3 separate regions of the Homo sapiens genome follow, and regions 2 and 3 are each linked to region 1. The links are contacts of gene promoters, found by promoter capture Hi-C in human tissues and cell types (Jung and others, 2019). All regions are on one chromosome and are shown on one strand. The core of a region is centred on a gene start or on the middle of the fragment in contact, and the rest is flanking DNA. Distances in the headings are between cores, read along the strand shown.

The links. The method cuts DNA at HindIII sites, captures the fragments that hold promoters and counts their contacts. A contact is called where the count stands out against the background at its distance.
Region 2: a contact is called between a fragment that was not itself captured here and the fragment with the promoter of MUC5B in region 1, in 2 of the 25 tissues and cell types used here (dorsolateral prefrontal cortex and spleen).
Region 3: a contact is called between a fragment that was not itself captured here and the fragment with the promoter of MUC5B in region 1, in 2 of the 25 tissues and cell types used here (IMR-90 fibroblasts and dorsolateral prefrontal cortex).

Annotation. Positions count from the first base shown.
Region 1 is chr11:1,221,576-1,224,477 of GRCh38, reverse strand. It overlaps MUC5B (mucin 5B, oligomeric mucus/gel-forming), which reads right to left and starts at 1,412. Exons shown (of 49, transcript NM_002458.3): 1 at 1,285-1,412. The coding sequence starts at 1,354. RefSeq lists enhancers at 1-177, 178-873, 874-1,571. The HindIII fragment of the contact is 6,998 bases long and covers 1-2,902 here.
Region 2 is chr11:1,471,559-1,474,460 of GRCh38, reverse strand. The region is part of intron 3 of MOB2 (MOB kinase activator 2); the gene reads left to right. Among named protein-coding and RNA genes, the nearest start is that of MOB2, 14 kb to the left of the region's middle. The HindIII fragment of the contact is 6,097 bases long and covers 1-2,902 here.
Region 3 is chr11:1,360,819-1,363,720 of GRCh38, reverse strand. LINC02689 (long intergenic non-protein coding RNA 2689) reads right to left here. Exons shown (of 5, transcript XR_930972.2): 3 at 874-1,043; 4 at 704-767; 5 at 1-160. Among named protein-coding and RNA genes, the nearest start is that of LINC02689, 12 kb to the right of the region's middle. The HindIII fragment of the contact is 4,928 bases long and covers 1-2,902 here.

The DNA of each region.
Region 1 (2,902 bases), core at 163-2,662:
CCTCCCCCCCAGGCAGCCCCTCCCCTGCCCAGGCTGACTGCCCTTGGTTATCTGCTCCGTGCAGTGCCCTCCTTGGGCTGGACCACCTGGGCCTCCATCTTGTAGCCAGAGAAGTGCCCACCACCAGCCACCCCATCACTTTGGGGTGTGTCCCCTAACATGAAGCTGCTCTGTGCAGGGCTGCCTTCCCCGGCCACAGGACGTGCATCTGGTGACTAAAGCACAGTCCCTGCCAAGGGCTTGATCTCCCCAACTTGGACGTGCGTGGAGGACAGGAGGACGGGTGGGCTGAGAGTCCCTAGGCCCTGCCTGCTCAGGTGAGGGGAGCCAAGGCTGCATGGCCCGGAAGAATCAGATGCAAGGAGGTGGCTATTCTGGTCAAACCAGCCCCCAAACCTTGCAGCCAGACGCAGCTCCCCCCGGGCCCAGGCTGGGAGCCACTGGGGGAAGCCCCCTGCCTCCAGCCCTGCTGACCACCCAGCCTCCCTTCCACAGATGGAGAGAGACCCCAGGGAGCCTCACCTGCCCAGCCCAGACCCCAAGCTTGGGAGGGGGTGGAGGGCGGGGCAGGGAGGGGCTGCAGCAGCCTCATGGCCAGCCCGGCTGGGTGTCTCCCGGTGGCCCCTGGGGCTGCATCTTTCTCTATTGACAGTAAGTATTAATGCTGCGGCTCTGGCCAAGAGACAGCAGACGAGGGAAAACGCTCGGCTGAGAGCCAGGCAGCCCGTGCGGCATGAGATGCCCACAGATGGGCCGTGGGAGTCGAGCGTGGGTTGAGGCCGGGGCTCTTGCGGCTGGCTGTGCAACCCTTGAGGGTGGTACCCTCACCTGCCCTGCCAGCTGTGATCCCCAGGGAGGTCGTGAAGGGTAGAGCCGGTCCTGGACAGGGGTCCACGCTAAGCCTGCCCCTGCTCACTCTGATGCCTGGGCCTCATGGGGCTCCAGAGAGACCCCCAGCTGTGACCCCCTCCCCCATTGCCCACTCCTGTCCCACCCCCAAGACCAAGACCCTTTCGGTGGTCTCCCAGGGGCCTTGCCCTGCGGTCAGGGGCCCACCTTCTCCTGGACACCCCATCCAAGCCAGCCCCTGAGTTTCCTGACACTGTGAGCCCGTGGGGCCCCAGAGCCCTGTGTTGGGGACGGGTAGGGTCCCATCCAGGACACTCAGGGAGTCGTAGGGGGATCTGCCCGTGCACTCTGCAGGAGAAGCTCCCAGGCAAGCGACCTGCAGAGACCCCCGCCGTGAAGACAGCATCGAGAGGGGGCGGAGTGGGGGGCTCTTACCTGCCTGCGGCACCACGAGCATGGCCGCCAGAGCCAACACCAGCGTCCGGCACGCGCTCGGGGCACCCATCCTGGGGGCTGGCACGGGTGGGGGGACGGGGACGGGCAGGGAGGGAGCCGGGCCGGGTGCTTGCTCCCCTGGGGGCCCCAGCTTATGTAGCAGGGAGCCTTGGCCCCAAGCCAGGCCAGGCCACGCAGGGCACCATGCTCTTCCCCGCTCCAGCCACGTGTGTTTGCTCTCGGGGAGGGGCTGTGGCAGGGGAGAGGCCTGGATCAGGAAGGATTTGCAGCTCTGTGCCCTGAGGCCCAGGACGCCCCCACCCCCAGCAGCTTCTGAGAATCGGAAGGGAGAGAAGGGCCTACCCCACCTGGCACCCGTCCTAGATGGCAAAGCCGCTGGAAGGCAGGGCTGGCCTTGGACGCAGGGTCCATGGAAACAGTGGTCAGCCAGCCTGCCTCACACTCAGCCCCACTGCGGCTCCTGCTGGAAGGGAATCCCAGCCTCTGGGCAGCACCCCCAGCCACTGACCATGGGTCCCCGAGGCCCGGGGAGGGCCCACGAGGCTGGAGCTCCCCTCCCACCACTGCTTAGCCCACGGGGAGGCCGGGAGGCTCCTGCTGAGCTCAGGCATGCACATGGCCAGGATGCTCAGTCTGGGTGGCTTGTGGGGGTCCCTGGAGGAGGCTCTATTTCCAGAGACCCCAGCCCAGCTGACCAGAGCCCCTTGAAGACCGTGGGAGGTCTCTGGGCTGATCTGTTTCAAGGTTCACATTCAAGGGGAAACTGAGGCCCAGAGTGTCTCCTGGCCATGCACATCGGGAGTCAGCTGCGCTTGTCCAATGCCAGCCCTGATCCAGCCAGGCCAGAGGCTCCGGCCCTGAGTCCCATTTGGCCTCCACCTCACTCTGGGGCCTCCTCATTAACCCTGGCAGGGTTGAGGAAGCAGCTGCTCCGGGGGGTCCTGGACCTGCCCGGGGTCCTCCGCCTGCCCCAGGTGGGAGCCGCAGAAGCCTAGCACCTCCGGCTGGTGTCGGGTGGGCTTCCTGGGGGCTATGTGGTAAACCTCCTTGACGAGCGTCATCTACAGGACAGACAGCGTCATCTGCAGGACACTCCGTCCGCGCTGCAATACCTCTTGCAAACACCTCCTGCCCGTGTGACCTGCACCTCAGATGCTCCCACCTCCTGGCTCCCTGGTCACCAGCGTCCTGAATGCTCCGTGGCGCAGACGCCAGGCAGGAAGCACCAGGTCGGGTGGTGTGGCCTCGTCCGGCCCCATGGGGACCCTAGGGTGGTGTCCAGGTCTGTTGTTTTATTTACGTCACAGTCCCCGTCACGGGCCCTGCACCAGCTCCCCCGCGTTTGTCTTTCTGAAGTTAAATTCTTAGAGGTGGGATTTCTGGGACAAGACGAAAGCCCATCTTCAAAGCTTCTGACCTGTCTCACGCTCAATAGGATGGCGGGGATCAAGAAACACAGGAAGTAGGAAGTGTTGGCAGAGACGTGGGGACCCGGAGCCCTGTGCCCTGCTGGTGGGGGTGACCAGCAACTCCACTCTGGGTCTGTCCCCAGAAGAACTGAAGGCGGGTCCTGAGGGACATTTGCACACCCATGTCC
Region 2 (2,902 bases), core at 295-2,794, 250 kb before region 1:
CTTTTGGAAGAAACCATAGGAAATCCTTATGACCTGACACTAGGCAGCAAAATTCAGAACTTTTGCTTCAAGACACTTTTAAGAGAAAGAAGACAAACTCCAGGCTGGGAGAGAAAACATTTGCAAATCACACATCCCACAAAGGACTGATATCCAGAATACATAAAGAACATACACAACTCAGCAGTAAGAAAACAAAACAGTCCAGTTAACTGTCAGCAAAAGAAATGAGCAGACAGTTTGCCAAAGAGGGTGTAAGGATGGCAGCTGGGGCTATCCTGTGTTGTTAGCAATTAGAGAAAGGCAAGCCGAAACCATGGGCAGACCCATGTCCACCTGCCCACATGCCGGTCGGGACACTGGTGCTGGCCAGGATGTGGCCACCTGGGACTCTGTTCTGCTGGCAGGGACACAGGTGAATAGATGAGCACGCCATGTCCATCTCTGCAGGGGCAGTGTCTGGGCAGTGAGGAGCCGTGGACTTCCGACACGTCTGCCACGTGACTGCATCCCAGGGGCCTCCGTGCAAGAGGGGCCCAGATCGGGAGGATCCGCGCGGTGCGATTCCTTCCCGCGGCCCATCCCTGAGGAGCCATCCCCGGGGTGCTGGGGGCACAGCAGCACGGGTGTGAGGGGCCACGTAAGCCGCCGCGTGTCCTGATTGTGGTTATGAATGCGTGAGTCCACATGTGGATAAAAATCTTAGAACTATATACCAGAAACGGTTTACTGATAATTGAAGAAGTACAGGAAACAGTGGTGTTCCATCTTTCAGAACAGATGGGACAATCCACAGTGTCCCTGAGTTACTGCTTTCTCTGGGTTTGCATTGTGGAAAAGGGTTTCCGTCTCTAACCTCCACTGTTTTGAGACCTGTCGCACACCTGTGGCCAGGTGCATCAGATGTCAGCTTGCAGTGTCAGGGTACCTGGAGCCAGTGTCTGACTCCTGCAGAGTGCTGAGCCATCCTGGCTGGGTCCTCGCCCTGGAAACATGGGCCTCAGCCTGGCCCTTAGGGGCTGGGCCTCCCCTACACCATCTGGGAACCCCAGGACAGTGGGGATACGTGCGTCCTCTACATCATTCTCGAGGAGCAGATGCTGAAAGGACTGTTGTCTCTGCATTCTCAGAGGGTCTGACAGCCTGGTGGCGATGCCCACGGTGAGGCCTGCAGCCTGGGAAGGTGGGCGTGAAGGTCATGCAGAGCTGTCCCAGGGGGAGGACAGCACCTGAGAGGCAGGTGTGGGCACTGCATCCCCGTCCTCATGGCCTGTCCATTTTGGGGCTGCACTTCCCCTTCGGGTGGGCTGAGTCAGCCCCGCACAGGGCACACATGAGAGCTCCTGGTTTGCATTCTGGAGGTGGGTGCTGGGAGGGGGTTGTCCTAGGGCCCTGGTGGTGCTGGGAGGTGGCCTGATGGCTGTTTCTGTTGCAGAGGGCAGGGTGCCAGCATGCAGGGCTTGCAGTGTCATCCTCTAGCTTCTTGGTAACTCTGGTGACTCCCCCCGGGATCTGCAGTGCACAGGCTGAGGGGCTTCTTGGACACAGCAGAGGGGTGCCCAGAGACGCTGGAGGCCCTGTGCCCAGAGATGCTGGAGGCCCTGTGCCCGGAGACGCTGGAGGCCCTGTGCCCGGAGACACTGGAGGCCCTGTGCCCAGCTGGGAGGATGGCTTCTCTGGCTGCGCAGGAAGTGGGCGAGCCCCCCGTGGCCCTGTCTCAGCCCTTGGGGCGTCTCCCCAGGTGCCTTGGTGGGCTCTGGAACCCAGGGCACGATGCTTGGAGCTGGCCAAGAGAAGAGTGGCCTCCAGAGTGGAGCCTGGGTCCATCCTTTTCAGCACTGCCCCACCCAGGGCCATTCCAAGAGGAACCGTGACTGGATGAGGAGGGTGGGAGCGGTTCATGTGGAGCCTGGTACTGGCAGACTGCCTGTTGGTCTAGCTGGGGCAGTGGAGGCGATGGTGGTTGTGGCCATGGTGTGGAGGGGGCGTTTGCTCAGTGGCCAGTACTGCTCTGTGCTGTGTGGCCCATTCCCACCTGTGGTGAGCTGGGAGCTGGCTCTCAGGGAGGAAATCCCGACCCATAGTGTTGGCTGTGTCTCAGGTGTGAGCACTCCCACCACAGCACTCTCCACTGCCTGTGGGTGGGGCTGCGGCATCGGCCCCAGCATGCCCTGGTTCAGGCCTGCGGGGGCGGCCGCTGTGGGCATGGCCTTGGAGGACTGAGACCCAGCACCGTGGCAGGGGGAGAGGGGTGGTGGCTGCCAGGTGGGTGCCCTGGGTTTTGGTGTTGTGCTGGGGGAGGAGGGGTGTTAGGGGCTGGGGGTCACCTTATATTAACATGAACTAGAGCACACCCTTGTCATGGCTGGACCCAACAGTAAGAGGCAAACCCAGGGTGTCCATGTCCCTAGGATGCTCCAGCCTGCTCTGGGGCCACGAGTCTCACATGAGGACTGGCCGCCCTTGTGTACAGGGGCAAGAGGGGGCCAGGTCCCTGTCCTGGCCAGGCTGTTAGCCGCAGGTACCCACAGAGACCACCGCCCTCCTCTGCTTTCCCCGGAGAGGGGCTTGGCTTCTAGCAGTCAGAGCAGGGCTCTCCCAAAGGGTGGGGCCTGGCCGGCGAGCCACAGCACAGCTTCCTGGGAAGAGAAGGAGCCTCTGTGTGCTTTCAAAATACAACAGAAAAACAGCAGCACGCACTTGTGTAAACGAATACAACTGAAGCCATGTAGAAGCGGAGAAAACGAAGATGACCCCTTCATTTAATCACACACCTGTACAGCCATGTGGCTGGCAGGCTCCCCAGCGTGATCCTGGCGTAGTTCTAAGTCAGCGCAGGCAGACCCCTCCATAGAGTGCAGTGTGGTCCCCGCAGACAGTGTGTGGGGACAGTGTGCATGTC
Region 3 (2,902 bases), core at 297-2,796, 140 kb before region 1:
AGAACTTCCTCCATACAACGGAGAGGAAAGGAGGCAAAAGCACAGACGTGGCAACGTTAGAGGATTTATCGCATGGCCCTGTTCATCCATCCCAGCAATGCATCCTGGGAGAGAAAGGCGTGGCAATATGCTGATGGAGGGCACCGCATCTTGGAAGGCTCTGTGGACCAAGATAGTGGTGCAAGTTGCTCTCATTGAACAGGCTGCCTGAGTGTTGGCAACCAGGTAGCAGCTCCAGCACAATGGGGTGTCCTGGTCTCAATGGGTGACAGGGCCAGGGCAGCAACTGTGTCCTTCACCCTGTAGGACTTTGGGGAATGTCTAACTGATTGAAGTGTCCCCAGGACTAAAACACGTAAGTAGCCTGCCAAAGTGTTCTCTGGTCTCTGTCTTAGTCTGTTTGGGCTACCATAACAAAAATATCATTAAAGATCTGGGTGGCTTATAAATGACAGAAACATGTCTCACAGTTCTGGAGGCTGGAAGTGCAAGACCAAGGTGCCAGCTGTGTTTGGTGGAGGCCAGTTTCCTCTCAGACAGCAACTTCCGGCTGCACCCGTACATGGGGCAAACAAGGCTCCCATGGGCCCCTTTCATAAGGGCACCAATCCATTTATGAGGGCTCTGCCCCCATGACCTTGCCACCTCTTGAAGGTCCCACCTCCCAACACCATCACCTTGGTGATTAGGTTTCAATACCTACCTTTCGAGGAGGACACAAGCATTCAGACCATGGCAATCACTGTAAGTGACAAAACCCTGTAGGTCTGGTGAACAGAGAAATGGCGTCAGCCAGCATGGTGGAGAATCCTGGCTTTTCCCCATATCCCAGAACTGAGCAGCTCAGAACCCCTGAATGCCGGGGGACCAGACCTCCTTACAGAAGGGCTCTGAGATACCACTGGCCCCACGATTGTGGGCCAGTCAGAGCGGGTGGGATGCTCGGCTCAGAGGTGCTGCCTAGCCATTCTCCAGGGCGAACTGTTTCCTTCCTTCCATCTGCAGCCACGCTGCCAAAGGGCTGCAGACTTCTTCAGAGAAATCTAGGAGAAAGATTTACAGTGCATACTGGCAACGGTATCCTGGATTCCTCTTTTTTTGTTTGTTTGTTTGAGACAGAGTCTTGCTCTGTCGCCCAGGCTGGAGTGCAGTGGTGTGATCTTGGCTCATCGCAGCCTCTGTCCCCCAGGTTCAAACAATTCTCCTGTCTCAGCCTCCCGAGTAGCTGTGACTGCAGGCGTGCGCCACCATGCCCGGCTAATTTTGTATTTTTAGTAGAGACAGGGTTTCACCATGTTGACCAGGCTGGTCTCAAACTCCCAACCTCAGGTGATCCACCCGCCTCAGCCTCCCAAAGTGCTGGGATTACAGGTGTGAGCCACTGTGCCCAGCCGATATCTCAGCTTCCTATCACATCGTTTTGCTTCACCTCTTTGGCCTGTGAAGGACAGAGGTGGATTTTGGAGAGTGACTGTGGATGGCTGCAAACACAATCGGGTGGGGACTCCAATTGCATCTGCCCCTCCAGATGTACCTCGTGTGATGGAACACCCAGCCATGGCTTCCATGAGGAAACTCATCTGACCAACGTTTCCTTCCACACACAACAGCTGAGCCACAGGGGAAGGCTACTTTCACCTGGCAGGGACAGCAATACACCCCGGCTCGTGCTTCTCAGAACTGTGCCCATCGTCCATCCCTTTGTCAAAATATAGACCTCAGGGCCCTTGACCATCTCAGTCCTGGCCATCCCATGGGACAAAGTGCCAGTTCACTATGCCGATGGTGTAATGGAGATCAGACCTGGTGGCAGGAAGTAGTAAATACTCTAACTGTCTTAGTAAGGCCCTTTCGTGCCTCCATAGTAGGAGACGCACCTCACAAAATGAAGGATTCTGTCATTTCAGTGAAATTTCTAGACATCCTGTGGTCTGGGATATATGAAGATATGTGCCCCCAGCCAGGCATGGGCTCACACCTGTCATCCCAGCACTCTGGGAGGCCATGGCAGGAGGATCGCTTGAGCCCAGGAGTTCAAGGCTGCAGTGAGCTGTGATGGCACCACCACACTCCAGCCTGGGCAACAGAGTGAGACCTTGTCTCAACAATAATGATTAATAATAATAATAATAAGATACTTGACCCAACTTCCTGTTCTTTGCACTAAGAAGGTGGCACAATGCTGCTTGGTAGGCCTTTTTAGACCCCAGAGAGCTCATGCACCATATTGAAGCAGGCTGCTTCGACCATATGGAAGCCTCCGAGGCTGTCAGTTTTGAAGGGGCCTACAGCAGCAGAAGGCTCTGTAGCAGGTCCAGGCTGCCATCAGGCACCTCTGCACGCGTGTCTCAGCAAATCAGACGGTGACAACAGGTCCGTGTCAGACAGGGATGCCGTGTGGAGCTTCCGACAAACCCTTCAGAAGAATCCCAGCTCAGCCACCCAGCGTTTTGGAGAAAAATCATGCCCTCTTCTGAAAGTAACCATTTTCCTTTGGAGACCCAGCTCCTGGCTTTCCACTGGGCCTCGGAAGAGATGGAAGTGTCAGATGACCACGTGACCTACCGGTCATGAATGAGGCAATGCAAGATTCACCAAGCATTAAAGCTTACCGTTCCCAGCATCCCTCCACCGTCACTTGGGGTGGAGACTATGGCACAGTCTCTGGGAGGGCCTGGGACTGCACTCCTCCCACTCGTTCAGGTGGCCGCCCATCTGTGCCATGCACCCACGTCCACGGCACCCAGGCCCACGGCACCCAGGCCCACAGCACCCACGTGCACAGCACCCACGTCCACAGCACCCAGGCCCACAGCACCCACACCCAGACATTGCCATTTCTCCCTCCACAAGCACCAGTGCCTTCCAGGGCAATTCCCAGCCACCAGGGGAGTGAGGAATC